Linked DNA regions of Homo sapiens: all the other regions are linked to region 5. Evidence: promoter capture Hi-C in 16 types of primary human blood cells and fetal thymus (Javierre and others, 2016). All regions are on one chromosome and are shown on one strand. The core of a region is centred on a gene start or on the middle of the fragment in contact, and the rest is flanking DNA. Distances in the headings are between cores, read along the strand shown.

Region 1 (2,700 bases), core at 38-2,537, about 15 Mb after region 5:
GTTAGCCAGGGCTTCTATCATCAGTTCTTCTCTGCAGGGCGCTGCTAGGGAGGTCCTGACCACCAGAGGGCACTAGAACCACAATCCCGGTCCCAGGGAACTTTGCTTGTGCTCCCGCCCCTTTCTGTCAAAATGCTGTCCGGCCACCAGCGGCAGCAGCGTCTGGGAACTTGTTTGAAAAGCAGAACCTCAGGACTTAAAACCAGACCTGCTGAATCAAAATCTGCATTTTGTCAACTCCCCCACCCAGGCAATTGGTGTGCACCCTTGAGGGCCAGGCTGTAACTCAGTGGTTCTCTACCTTGGCTGCGTGTTAGAACCACCAGAGGAAGTGTGTGTGTGTGTGTGTGTGTGTGTGTGTGTGTGTGTGTGTGTGTGTTTGAGATGGAGTCTCCCTCTGTCGCCCAGGCTGTAGTGCAATGGCGCGATCTCTGTTCACTGCAACCTCCGCCTCCCGGGTTCAAGCGATTCTCCCTCCTCAGCCTCCAGAGTAGCTGGGATTACAGGCTCCCACCATTACGCCCGGCTAATTTTTGTATTTTAGTAGAGACGGGGTTACACCATGTTGACCAGGCTGGTCTCGAACTCCTTACCCCAAGTGATCTGCCCAGCTCGGCCTCCCAAAGTGCTGGGATTACAGGTGTGAGCTACCGCGCCTGGCCCAGAGGAACTTTTAAAATCCCTGATGCAAGGGACTACCCCCAGAGATTTTGATTGCATTGGTCTGGGGTGCAGCCTGCTGCCCGGATTGTTAAAAGTTTCCCTGGGGATTTTACTGTGCAGTTAAGGTTGAGAAGGGCTGCAAGCCTGGGTCATTGCACACTGTAAGAACCTTGTGTATGAATGGAACTGTGCTATGGAACAACTCCACACCACCTGTGTGTGTAGGCATAGGAGAAACACATAAACCCTGACCCTCAAGGGTCTCCTGGAATGCAAGACCTCAGCCCTCAGGGGCCTTCAGATAAAGGTGCGGTCAGGGCAAACATGGAACACCAAGGACGTGTGATATTATTTTCCAGGTGCTTCAAAGACTCAAGTCAAACACCAACTGCTCAGATAGCAAATTCTAGTTCACCCACCCCACCCATGCTCAGTGATGGGGCTCACGGCAGTTTCCTGTAAGTGTTTGCTGGGCTCGCCTTTCTAACTCCACTGTGGGCCCCCTGAGAGAAGTAATGAGTCGGGTCCCCACTCAATGGAGCCCTGTTCGCAGTTGCTTTTGTGACGTAGGAAGAAACCAGCTGGTGGTGGAATTGGTGAGTTGTGCTCCAGGAAAGAAGGTGCCTGGAAGACAGAGATCAGCGATGTTAGGAGGCACTCTAAAAAAATATATTCTTTCCTATTTATATAGAGCTTCATGGTTCCCAAAGCACTCTTAGGTGCACTGTTGCATTTTTGTAACACCCATCTGCATTAGATTAGAGTTTATCTGTACAGATGAGGAAAACTGAGTGACAGAGGCGTAAATAGATATGCGGGAATTTGCATGAGTCAGGCAGAATTAGAACAAGAAATCGCCTTCCTAAATTTCCTAATTTCCTATATGCTGTTTCCAGGATGTAGCAATACCCAGCTTCTGACTTCTCTTTCCTCACCGTTGAGACCATTTCTGGGGGATTTTGTCTTCATTCTTTCTTTTTGTTCTCCTCCCCAAAATTGTGGGTTTGTTTAGTCATTCTGGAATTCTCTGTTAATCTCCCACCAAATGTCCATTGACGTACTTGATTTCTCATTTTTGAAGGAAGATTCACCAGGTGTAAATTCTTAATATATGCTAGCAAAGACAATGATTTCATCACATTATAAACTTCTCGAATGCAAGAAACTTATTTCCCATTTTATCTCTAGCACCTTTGACAAATATTTGTGGAATGAATGAATAATGAATGAAGGGGATTTGCAAAGTTAAATGTGAGTGAGGGAGGAAGCAGACCCAGGAAATTAATCTGGAGCCAGTCTGCAGGTGGTGTGGTGGGCGTGGTTGTAACCTCTGGACCAAGAGCTGTGAACGATGGTGCACAAAGAAATACTGTCAGCACCACAGAGAGTGGGTTTTATCTTCTCAAATAATGGCCAACTTTCCTGCATCTTCTTCCCTTTTCCTGCTCCTCTTGAGGATGTATTCCCTGCTCAAATGAAATGCTGAAACGTGGCTGGGCGCAGTGACTCACACCTGTAATCCCAGCACTTGGGGAGGCCGAGGCGGATGGATCACCTGAGGTCAGGAGTTTGAGACCAGCCTGGCCAACACGGGGAAACCCTATCTCTACTAAAAATACAAACATTAGCCAGGCATGGTGGTGCAGGCCTGTAATCTTAGCTACTCGGGAGGCTGAGGGAGGAGAATTGCTTGAACCCAGGAGGTGGAGGTTGCAGTGAGCCAAGATTGTGCCACTGCACTCCAGCCGGGGTGACAGAGTGAGACTCCGTCGCAAAAAAAAAAAAAAAAAAAGGGCTGAAACGTTCTTTGAAGAATTCAGCGAGCCTTTGGATACTGACTTTCAGTAAAGGCCTCCCCGGCTCCGTGCCTTTTTTTCTATAAAGTGTCCTTACTCTTCTGGGGTCAGAAACCCTTCCCCTTCTGGGGTCCCCAAACAATGCTCCTCCCTGAGACAAATGAGGTGTGGGAAGGATGTGAGTGACATGCCCTTCTTCCACCACCAGTGTTTCTGCTGAAACCATATTCACTTTATTAAA
Region 2 (2,700 bases), core at 201-2,700, about 16 Mb after region 5:
GCAATCCTCCTACCTCAGCCTCCCAAAGCTTTGGTGTTACAGGCATGAGCCATTGCATGTGGCCTTCTGAGTGTTAGTGTACTGAATGCTGAAGACATGGCTGGGAAGTGGGGATTACTGTCCTTATTTTGTGAAGGAGGAACTTAGGATTCAAGGAGGCAAATTTTCATGCTCATAGTCACCCAGCTAGGAAGTTGTAAAGCCAGAATTTGAACTTGGATCTATCTGAGATCTGAGCTAAGTAAGAGAAGGTAGGAGCAGTGAGCATGATTAGGTCATGCAGGATTGTGGGTGCCAAGTTTGGGGGTGCTCAAACTCTACCAGAGACATTGGGGAGCCATGGCAGGTTCTAGGCAGAGGGAGGACAGGGTCAGGTTTGGCTTTAGAAAGATCCCTTGGCCTCGGCTGGGCACGGTGGCTCACGCCTGTAATCCCAGCACTTTGGGAGGCCGAGGAGGGCGGATCACGAGGTCAGGAGTTCGAGACCATCCTGGCTAACACAGTGAAACCCCATCTCTACTAAAAATACAAAAAATTAGCCAGGTGTGGTGGCGGGCGCCTGTAGTCCCAGCTACTTGGGAGGCTGAGGCGGGAGAATGGCATGAACCCAGGAGGCGGAGCTTGCAGTGAGCTGAGATCTGCCACTGCACTCCAGCCTGGGTGACAGATCGAGACTCCGTCTTAAAAAAAAAAAATCCCTTGGCCTCCAGGCCGGGTGCAGTGGCTTATGCCTGTAATCCCAGCACTCTGGGAGGCTGAGGTGGGCGTAAAACCTGAGGTCAGGAGTTCAAGACCAGCCTGGCCAACATGGCGAAACCCCGCATCTACTAACGATACAAAAGTTAGCCAGGCGTGGGGGCGTGTCTGTAGTCCCAGCTACTCAGGAGGTTTAGGGAGGGAGAATTGCTTGAACCCAGGAAGCGGAGGTTGCAGTGAGCAGAGGTCATGCCATTGCACTCCAGCCTCCAACCTGGGTGACAAGAGCGAGATTCCATCTCAAAAAAAAAAAAAGAAAAAAAGATCCCTTGGCCTCCAGAGAGCCCACAATGCATGAAAAGTAACAGAGGAAAAGAAGCAGGTATGTGAGATAGCAGGGAGGTGAAGGGAGTGGACAGACAAGGTTGATGCCACAAGTCACATAAGAGGGGCCAGGAAATAGCCACTGGATCTACCAGCAAGAAGGCTGATAGTCGGGAGGATCATTTGAGTCCAGGAGTTTGAGACCAGCCTGGGCAATGTAGTAGGACTCCATCTCTACAAAAAAAAAAAAATATATGTATATAGACATAGCCGGGCATGGTGGCACATGCCTGTGGTCTCAGTTGCTCGGGAGGCTGAGGTAGGAGAATCACTTGAGCCCGGGAGGGTGAGGCTGCAGTGAGCTATGATCTTGCCACTGGACTCCAGCCTGGGCCACAGAGACACCGTCTAAAAAAAAAAAAAAAAGGGCTGGGCATGGTGGCTCACTCCTGTAATCCCAGCACTTTGGGAGGCCGAGGTGGGCGGATCACCTGATGTCAGGAGTTTGAGACCAGCCTGGCCAACATAGTGAAACCCCGTCTCTACTAAAAATACAAAAAAATTAGCCAGGCGTGGTGGTGCACGCCTGTAGTCCCAGCTACTCAGGAGGCTGAGGCAGGAGAATCACTTGAACCTGGGAGGCAAAGGTTGCAGTGAGCCAAGATCGTGCCACTGCACTCCAGCCTGGGCAACAGAGTGGGACTCTGTCTCAAAAAAAAAAAGAAAGAAAGGCAGCCAGGGTGTGCAGGACGCTGTGGGTATGGACACCTGAGGGTGGTGGTAACTGAGCGGAGATAGTGTAGTCATCATGTCTAGATTCCCTGTGGGTGGGGAACATGGAGTCAAGTTTCAGGGCAGGCGTGGGGACCTACCTGTAAGACTCTAGGGGCAGGAAGTAGAGTGTGCAGAGCCTCCCTCTAGTAGCCTGTTAGGCTTAGAACTGGAGAGGATGGAGCATAGATGTCAGTAGGAGGCTGGGGCTGGGCAGAGGTGATATCAGTACACAGAGGCCATTATTGAGGAGGGTAACAGATTGGATTCCAATCCTGATTTCTTCACTTTCTTGCTATGTGACCTGGGGCATGGCCCCTCCCTTCCTGCCTCATTTCTTTTTTTCCTGTTTTTAATTTTTAGTTTTTTTAAAAAGCAGAGATGAGGTCTCTGTTGCCCAGGTTGGTCTCGAACTCCTGGGCGGCTCAAGTGATCCTCCCATCTTGGCCTTCCAAAGTGTTGGGATTATAGGTGTGAGCCACCACGCCCAGCCTGTGCCTCATTTTAAAATGACACTTATCTCACAGAGTTGGATTAAATCAGCCAATACCTGGAAAGCACTTTACCCCATGCTTGGCACACAGTAAATACTCAGTGAAGTGCCAGCTGCTATGATTGTCATCCCATGTATTTGTGTAATGTTATTATGCCAAAAACCAGTCTCCTTCCTTCCCTGCCGCCAAACCTCTGCATCTCCTCCTCCAGGTGCCTTCAAATCTCTTGACAAAGATGGCACTGGACAAATCCAGGTGAACATCCAGGAGGTAAGGACCCCCATATTGGGGTATGGGTGCCTGGGAGGACCCCACCCCTCAGCCCTTCATACCAGCTCTGAGCTGCAGTCCCCTTCCTCCTATTTTGCCAGCCGTCCCTGGGTGAGGGCAAAGGGGCTGGTGCTCTTGGGGTTCC
Region 3 (2,700 bases), core at 145-2,644, about 17 Mb after region 5:
TTCAAACACGGCTCACTGCAGCCTTGACCTCTCAAGCTCGAGATCCTCCCACCTCAGCTTCCCGGGTAGCTGGGACCACAGGTGTGGGCCACCACACTCAGATAATTTTTAATTTTTTGTTTGTTTGTTTTTGAGACGAAGTCTCGCTCTTGTCCCCCAGGCTGGAGTGCGATGGCGCGATCTCGGCTCACTGCAACCTCTGCCTCCTGGGTTCAAGCGATTCTCCTGCCTCAGCCCCCTGAGCAGCTGGGATTACAGGCACCTGCCACCACGCCCAGCTAATTTTTGTATTTTTAGTAGAGACAGGGTTTTATCGTGTTGGCCAGGCTGGTCTAGAACTCCTGACCTCAGGTGATCCACCCGCCTCGGCCTCCCAAAGTGCTGGGATTACAGGTGTGAGCCACCGTGCCAGCCATTAATTTTTTTTTTTTTTTTTTGTACAGGCCAGGCTGGTCTCGAACTCCTGGGCTCAAGTGATCCTCCCACCTCGGCCTCCCAAAGGGCTGATGTGAGCCACCACACCCGGCCCTACATCCACTCCTGAGACACAGGACACAATCACAGACACCTCTATACCTTTCCAGTCACAATATCTTTCCAGTCACAATCACACACCCGCTAAGACACACCCAGTCACACAATCTACTCTCCACTGTGATACAGTTACTCCCGTATAGTCACAAGCCCCACACACCAACACCCACAAATGCCTCATATAGTCACAGTCACACACCCACTCAGGGGACACACGCCATCACTGGTACTTTACGGCACCCAGTCACAACTGAACTTTCACTGTGGACATACACACAGTCACACTCACACAAGCAACCCACACAAGCAGTGGCACCCCACTCCCGCATACACAGCACCACACACATACACACAAACACACACACCAAGGGATACAGGAATACACAAGCGGCGTCACCACACAGTCACAGGCACAGGCAATTGCACACGGCCACAGTGTCACACAACCAAAACCACGCACACACCTTGGAGACATGAATCACAACCGCACACCCGCAGTGGTCACACAGTCACAACTGTACTCACACCCCAGGAACAGGGCGAACAGGCCACATATACAACGGGGACACACGCAGTATCACCCCCGGTCACAAGGACCCTGCACCCCGATACTCTCTATCACACATGGTTACACAAAAACCACCAGACACCCTGGAGACAGGCGGTTACACGTGCACAGTTGCAGACACCCACACCCAGCCACACAGCCACAAAGACACATTCAGAACGGCGCATCCGCAGCCAGCTCCCGCCTGCGCGCACAGATTCGAGGCTCCGGACACGCCCCGGCCCCGCCCAGGACTCCCAGACCCCTCACCTTCTGCCTCCCCTGGTCGCGTCCGGGTCCTTGCGGAGCTAACTAGCTCGCCACGACGTCAAGAACGACGTAACGTCAGGCCGCTGTGGGCTCTGGGAATTGTAGTCCAGAGCTAGATCGGCCACGGACAGAATGGCGTTCTCTTATCTCTGAGTCGGGGCCTGGCTCGTTTTGACATTTTTGCGCCCACGAGTCTTCGGAGAGGGCGTCGCCACTCCAGACCTTCCAGCAAGCTTGAAGTCATCTGACGCTAAAGGACTACTTACCTCAAGAGCTCCATCGTCACAGAAGGAGGCGGCCAAGTTCGCGGGGGGAGGGGAGGAGACAGAGAGTCGACCAGTAAAGCCTCAAGGGAAATGTAGTCCAAGGCCTGAGAAGCGACGTTGCTGGTAATAGAAGGTAATTCAGTACCAGCCTGGGCCTGGCCGCGGTGACCGAGGCGGGCCGCGTCGCGGAGACTTCTGGGAGTGCTTCCTCGCTCTCCGAGTGCGCAAGCGCAGCGCACCGAGTGGACATTTTGGTCTTTGTCCGCGGGTCAGTACGGCCCCTGGGTCCACGTGGCGCGAAAGTAGGAGGTGGGATCTGGGCGTCTCGGGTCGGTCGGACCGGGGAGGTTAAAGGGGAGGATTCCTGATCTTTAGGGGCGCGGCGCGAGGGCAGGGAGTGGGTGTAAGAGCTTCTGGCCTACGTGCGGGGCGGAGATGGGGGCCTCTGAGGCGGGTTTGAGCGAGTGTGACCGAGTTTGTCCTCAAAGTTTGACCTGATGTTTGGGATTGTTGAGTGAATGTGAAACTGGGTGCGGGATTGTGTGTGATTGTGCCTAAGAGGGAGATGTAGGAGACCAGCATTGAGGTATAACGTTTGAGCTGCACTTCCCTTGTCGAAAGTGCTGATAATTATAACGGTGCCATCTTCCTGGAGCGTCTTTTTTACTTGAAAATTGAAGGGGTGGAAAAGCTAAGTGGTGAATAATTTTAAAACGAGTTTTTATATAAAAGCATTTCTTTTTAATTGGAGTGGCATGCAAATCACCGTGACTTTTTTTTTTAATTAAACGAGAGTGTTTCGAAGGAACTTTAGTTTCGGGGTGCCTACTTCAGACTATTCAAATCCCCATCTTTGGGGTACTTAAATAGGGCTGTTAAGCAAAGCCCTAGACTAAACAGCATTGTACGCTTTGAGAAGCAATCCCATATAACGGCGCCCAGGATGAGGGAGTCAACGGTTTTAGGTTAGGCACAGTTATCCTCATTTTTTGAAGAAAGCTTAATTGTTGCAGTGTTTATCTATGAGTCTGGACTAAATCCTAGGTGTCTTAATTCCTTAATGAGTCGAGGCGTTCTCAGGTT
Region 4 (2,700 bases), core at 55-2,554, about 16 Mb after region 5:
GGTAATGTTAGACAGAATGAGTTCCTCTTCAAAAATCTAACTTCCTTGTCCTTTGCTCTATGAACTGTCCTTCCTGCAGAAACTGCCCTTACCGGGGAAACTGCCCCTCCCCGCCGCTGCAACCCATACCCCGCCTCTATTAGAAATAGGCAATCGGAATCAGCTTAGATTGTGAGGTCCAACCCTAGCCAACGGGGGTTAAAAACCCCTGCTCTCCTTTATTAGGTGTGCTTTTGGTACAGGTCTGGGCAGCACGCTTCTGCAGAAGTAAACTTTGCCTTGCTAAGAAACTTTTCTCCGAGTGCTGGTCTCTCTCTGTGGCACCAAGAACTTATTTCTAACAGTAAGAAGAATTTACTGAGGACAGCGTAGGCTTGAAAAAGAAAAGTTTTACTAGAAAGAATGCTGCCGGGCACTCACGCCTGTAATCCCAGCACTTTGGGAGGCCGAGGCAGGTGGATTGCCTGAGCTCAGGAGTTCGAGACCAACCTGGGCAATACAGTGAAACCCCATCTCTACTAAAATACAAAAAACTAACTGGGCATGCCAGCATGTGCCTGTAGTCCCAGCTACTTGGGAGGCTGAGGCAGGAGAATTGCTTGAACCCAGGAGGTGGAGGTTGCAGTGAGCTGACATCATGCCACTGCATTCCAGCTTGGGTGACAGAATGAGACTCCATCTCAAAAAAAAAAAAAAAAAAAAAAAATGAAGGAAAGAATGCTGCAGGCCAGGCAGGGTGGCTCACACCTGTAATCCCAGCACTTTGGGAGGCCGAGGCAGGCGAATCACCTGAGGTTGGGAGTTCAAGACCAGCCTGACCAACATGGAGAAACTACTAAAAATACAAAATTAGGCGGGCATGGTGGCCCATACCTATAATCCCAGCTACTTGGGAGGCTGAGATAGGAGAATCGCTTGAACCCAGGAGGCGGAGGTTGTGGCAAGCCAAGATCACACCATTGCACTCCAGCCTGGGCAACAAAAGCGAAACTCCATTTCAAAAAAAAAGAGCTGATTTTTTTGTTTGTTTTTTAGACAGCGTCTTGCTCTGTTATCCAGCCTGTGTGTGATCCCGGCGGTGTGATCTGAGCTCACTGTAGCCTCAACTTCCCGGGCTCAAGTGCTCCTCCCACCTCAGTAGGCCCCATGAATAGCTGAGACTACAGGCACATGCCACCACACCCAGCTAATTTCTGTATTATTTGTAGAGGTGGGGTTTCGCCATGTTGCTCAGGCTGGAGTGCAGTGGCACAATCTCGGCTCACTGCAGCCTCAGGCTCCTGGGCTCAAGCAATCCTCCCACCTCAGTCTCCCAAAGTGCTGGGATTCCAGGTGTGAGCCACTGCGCACGGCCAAGAATAAAGATTTTAATAAAGTAATGTGAAATTAACATGAAAAGCCAATAAGGAAACTGGGCAAATATTTGAAAAGACAATACATAAAAGAAACACCAATAGCCAAAAAACCATGAAAGCCAAGTTCACCCCCATTCATATTTGAAGAATGTTACATAAAATATTGAGACACCACCTTTTGCCTGTCAAATCAGGAAAGATGTTTATTTTTATTTTTTATTTTTGAGACAGGGTCTCTCTGTCATCCAGGCTGGAGTATGGGGCACAATTTCGTCTCATTGCAACCTCAAACTCCTGGGCTCCAGCGATCCTCCCACCCCAGCCTCCCAAGTAGCTAGGAGCACGGGCACACCACTATGCCTGGCTAATTTTTTCAAAACACTTTTTTGTAGAGATGGAGTCTTGCTATGTTGCCCAAACTGGTCTCAAACTCCTGAGCTCAAGTGATTCTCCCACTTCAGCCTCCCAAAGTGCTGGGATTATAGGCATAAGCCGCCATGCCACAAAATTTTACAAGAAAATTTCAGCCAGCATTTGACAAGATTCCAGGGGACATGAATGAAATACCTAAAGATAAAAGAGTTCCTTGAGGCCAGTTAAGGTGGCTCATGCCTGTAATCCCACCACTTTGGGAGGCCAAGGCAGTGGATCACAAGGTCAGGAGTTCAAGACCAGCCTGGCCAATATAGTGAAACCCTGTTTTACTAAAAATACAAAAATTAGCCTGGCATAGTGGCGGGCACCTGTAATCCCAGCTACTCAGGAGGCTGAGGCAGGAGAATCGCTTGAACTTGGGAGGTAGATGTTGCAGTGAGCTGAGATCACAGCAATGCACTCCAGCCTACAGAGCGAGAGACCCCTCTCAAAAAAAAAAAAAAAAAAAAAGGAGTTCCTTGACAAAAGAAATGTGGAATTTGCTGCCTTGAACTAAGTTAAATTAGCTGCTTTGTTGCAGGAATTTTCATTAATATGCTAGTCCATGATAACCTGTATAAAAGGATCCTCTTGGGCATTACTTTCTGGGTTTTTTGTTTGTTTTCAGAAACAGGGTCTTGCTCTGTCATCCAGGCTGGAGTGTCATGGTGTGATCATATATCATATCTCACTGCAGCCTCGAATTTCTGGGCTCAAGCTATCTTCCAGCCTGAACCTCCTGAGTAGCTAGGACTGCAGGTGTGTGCCACCATGCCCAGCTAATTAAAAAACTTATTTTTGTACAGATGAGGTCTCATTATGTTGCCTAGAGTGGTCTCTATTCCTGGGCTCAAGAAATCCTCCCCTCTCAGCCTCCCAAAGCACTGAGATAACGTGTGTGCCACTGTGCTTGGCCTGAATTTTTTATTTT
Region 5 (2,700 bases), core at 53-2,552:
TCTGTCTTTCTGTAGCCCTTGATGCTGTTCCCTTTTCCTCTTCTTGAGGCAAACACACTCCTGGAATCAGAGGGGAAGCTTCCTGATATACCTCAGTGTCCATGGCTCCAAACCTGCTGGTGTCACCTGAGGCAGGCCCAGAGAGAGACGACACAGTCACTGCTTCAGGCCCAGGGAAGCTCACAGTCACCAACTCCTCCGACGACACTTGGTCACTCAGAACTCTAAACTGTGGGTCAGGAGCGCGACCTTGCTTGCTGTTGTATCCCCGACAGAACTCAGTATCACCACCCTCATTTTGCGGAAAGACATCATGTAAATGACTCGCTCATAAACACCTCTGCCTCTCTTCAACACTGTAATTAACTGCATTTCATGCTCCTTTCCATCACAGTATGGAAGACCACTAAGCACTGGACAGCAAGACTTGGTTCAGTCTAAGAACCAACTAAGCTTCATAGATGGGGGAAACCTATCCCAGTGATCTCGCCTTACACTTTGAAAACCAAGGTAGGAGACAGATGAGATGGAAGGTAGGGCCGTTTCCAGAACAAGAGTAGTCGCTAATATGGGAACTAGTATAAACAACTCCTACCTGACCTGGGCGACGTATGCTGGGCCCTGCGCTAAGCCTTTTACAAGTATTACATCACTGAATCTAAATGACCATAACAGGGAGGACTTCAGAAAAAGGAAATAACCCGCACCAGGCATGCACAGCAAGTCAGCAGTGGGGTCATGATTAAGCCTGCGCCAAAGTGTAGAGGGTGCCCCTGGGAATCCAGGCCAGGCAGATGAGTGGCCCAGGTCGCGATGGTGACCGACAGGAAGGCCGCAGCTGGGACCCACGGCGAGGCTCGACCGTGCTGGGGGTCGGGCTCGCGTGTACACACTTACCGGGGTGCAGGTGAGCGCGCAATGCGCGTGCACAGACCAATGCCCCGAGAGGACAGTGAGCGCGTGCGCGAGGCAGATGGTGGCAAGCACGAGCAGCGCAGCTTCGGGGATCTGCACCCAACTGCTGCCCCAGCCCCAGCAGCCAGCGGCTGCGGCACCCAACCAGGCCGGGTAAAGCAGCCCGGCGAATGGCAGCACCGTGAGGCGCCGCAACAGCGCCAACCGCCGGTACGGCCACACGGCAGCCACCAGCTCGTCACCGTTCGCTATGAGCGCCGGCCCGGCGGCAAGGAGCGCGCGCGGCTGCGGCCCGGGCTTGGGCTGCCCGTCAGGCCGGACCCCGCAAGGCCGGGCCCCGCAGGGCACCGCGTTGCCCACCGCCGCCGCTGCCGCCATCTTTCCTAGCGCCGCGCTCACTTCCGGGCAGAGGAACGCCTCACTTCCGAAGTTTTACTTCCGGTAAGCCCTGAGCGCCGCCATGGCAGCCTGGACTAGGAAGAGCCAGGGCAACAGAACAGGCTGGCCCCGGCAGGGACTACTTCGGGTGCCGCCATGACAGGCTGTGGCCGGAAGAAGAGGCTGGGCGTCGCCATGACAGAGAGGGACTGGAAGACCTAACGGTGCCTGCCTCCGCTGCCACGCCGGACTGAGACCGGAAAAGACAAGGCCGGCAAGGCGGGCTTGGGCGCCACCATGACAACCTGAACCAAAAAAAGCGAGCCCTCCTCCTTGACTACACCAGCACCACCTGTCACCAGGGGCGAAGCCTGGACCCTGCGGAGGCGGGGTCGGGAGCTTCGGAGTTCAGGAGGCGGGGCCCGGTGCGGGGGGCGGGGCTTGTGAGGGGCGGGGTCGGGGACCGCCCCGGAACACAACCACACCGGACAAGAGCCTTAATGTGATAGATAAGAATTACAAATACTAGCCGGGCGCGGTGGCTCACGCCTGTAATCCCAACACTTTGGGAGGCGAGGCGGGTGGATCACCTGAGATCAGGAGTTCAAGACCCAACATGGTGAAACCACGTCTCTACTAAAAATACAAAAATTAGCCGGGCGTGGTGGCACATGCCTGTAATCCCAGCTACTCGGGAGGATGAGGCAGGAGAATTGCTTGAGCCCGGGAGACGGAGGTTGCAGTGAGCCAAGATTGCTCCACTGCACTTCAGCCTGGCCAACAGAGCAAGACTGTCTCAAAAAAAAAAAAAAGAAAAATGAATTACAAAAACCACTTTAGGCCGGGCGCGGTGGCTCACGCCTGTAATCCCAGCACTTTGGGAGGCCGAGGTCAGGAGATCGAGACCATCCTGGCTAACGCGGTGAAACCCCGTCTCCACTAAAAATACAAAAAAAAAAAAAAAATTCTCCGGGCGTGGTGGCGGGCGCCTGTAGTCCCAGCTACTCCGGAGCCTGAGGCAGAATGGCGCGAACTGGAGAGGCAGAGCTTGCAGTGAGCGGAGATTGTGCCACTGCCCTCCAGCCTGGGCGACAGAGCGAGACTCTGTCTCCAAAAAAAAAAAAAAAAAAAAAAAGAAATTACCACTTTAACATAAAAAATGAAAAACTGGTGTTTACTTGAAATTATATACTTCTAGGCCGGGCGCGGTGGCTCACCCCTGTAATTCCAGCACTTTGGGAGGCCGAGGCGGGCGGATCACGAGTTCAGGAGATCGAGACCGTCCTGGCTAACACAGTGAAACCCCGTCTCTACTAAAAATACAAAAAATTAGCCGGGCGTGGTTGCAGGCGCCTGTAGTCCCAGCTACTCGGGAGGCTGAGGCAGGAGAATGGCCTGAACCTGGGA

Evidence for each region. Contacts are between HindIII fragments. The CHiCAGO score rates a contact against its expected background, and 5 or more counts as called.
Region 1: a fragment that was not itself captured here is called in contact with the fragment with the promoter of ATP13A1 in region 5 in 1 of 17 cell types (M0 macrophages); the score reaches 5.8 in M0 macrophages.
Region 2: a contact is called between a fragment that was not itself captured here and the fragment with the promoter of ATP13A1 in region 5, in 1 of 17 cell types (M0 macrophages). The highest score is 9.6, in M0 macrophages.
Region 3: a contact is called between the fragment with the promoter of ZNF565 here and the fragment with the promoter of ATP13A1 in region 5, in 1 of 17 cell types (M0 macrophages). The highest score is 13.3, in M0 macrophages.
Region 4: a fragment that was not itself captured here is called in contact with the fragment with the promoter of ATP13A1 in region 5 in 1 of 17 cell types (monocytes); the score reaches 5.7 in monocytes.

What each region holds. Positions count from the first base shown.
Region 1 is chr19:34,973,273-34,975,972 of GRCh38, forward strand. LOC124904700 (a long non-coding RNA gene) reads right to left here and starts at 355. Exons shown (of 2, transcript XR_007067237.1): 1 at 1-355. The HindIII fragment of the contact is 2,908 bases long and covers 1-2,700 here.
Region 2 is chr19:36,147,082-36,149,781 of GRCh38, forward strand. It overlaps CAPNS1 (calpain small subunit 1), which reads left to right. Exons shown (of 11, transcript NM_001749.4): 10 at 2,497-2,555. Among named protein-coding and RNA genes, the nearest start is that of COX7A1, 4.0 kb to the right of the region's middle. The HindIII fragment of the contact is 2,849 bases long and covers 27-2,700 here.
Region 3 is chr19:36,213,271-36,215,970 of GRCh38, forward strand. It overlaps ZNF565 (zinc finger protein 565), which reads right to left and starts at 1,395. Exons shown (of 5, transcript NM_152477.5): 1 at 1,352-1,395. It overlaps ZNF146 (zinc finger protein 146), which reads left to right and starts at 1,836. Exons shown (of 4, transcript NM_007145.3): 1 at 1,836-1,926. RefSeq lists enhancers at 1,350-1,779, 1,890-2,079. The HindIII fragment of the contact is 6,757 bases long and covers 1-1,582 here.
Region 4 is chr19:36,128,423-36,131,122 of GRCh38, forward strand. The region is part of intron 2 of LOC105372385 (a long non-coding RNA gene); the gene reads right to left. Among named protein-coding and RNA genes, the nearest start is that of CAPNS1, 10 kb to the right of the region's middle. RefSeq lists an enhancer at 1-58. The HindIII fragment of the contact is 8,615 bases long and covers 1-2,700 here.
Region 5 is chr19:19,662,374-19,665,073 of GRCh38, forward strand. ATP13A1 (ATPase 13A1) reads right to left here and starts at 1,303. Exons shown (of 26, transcript NM_020410.3): 1 at 898-1,303. The coding sequence starts at 1,293. RefSeq lists enhancers at 470-519, 651-1,633, 905-1,006, 1,350-1,639 and silencers at 1,040-1,299, 1,740-1,789. The HindIII fragment of the contact is 4,289 bases long and covers 452-2,700 here.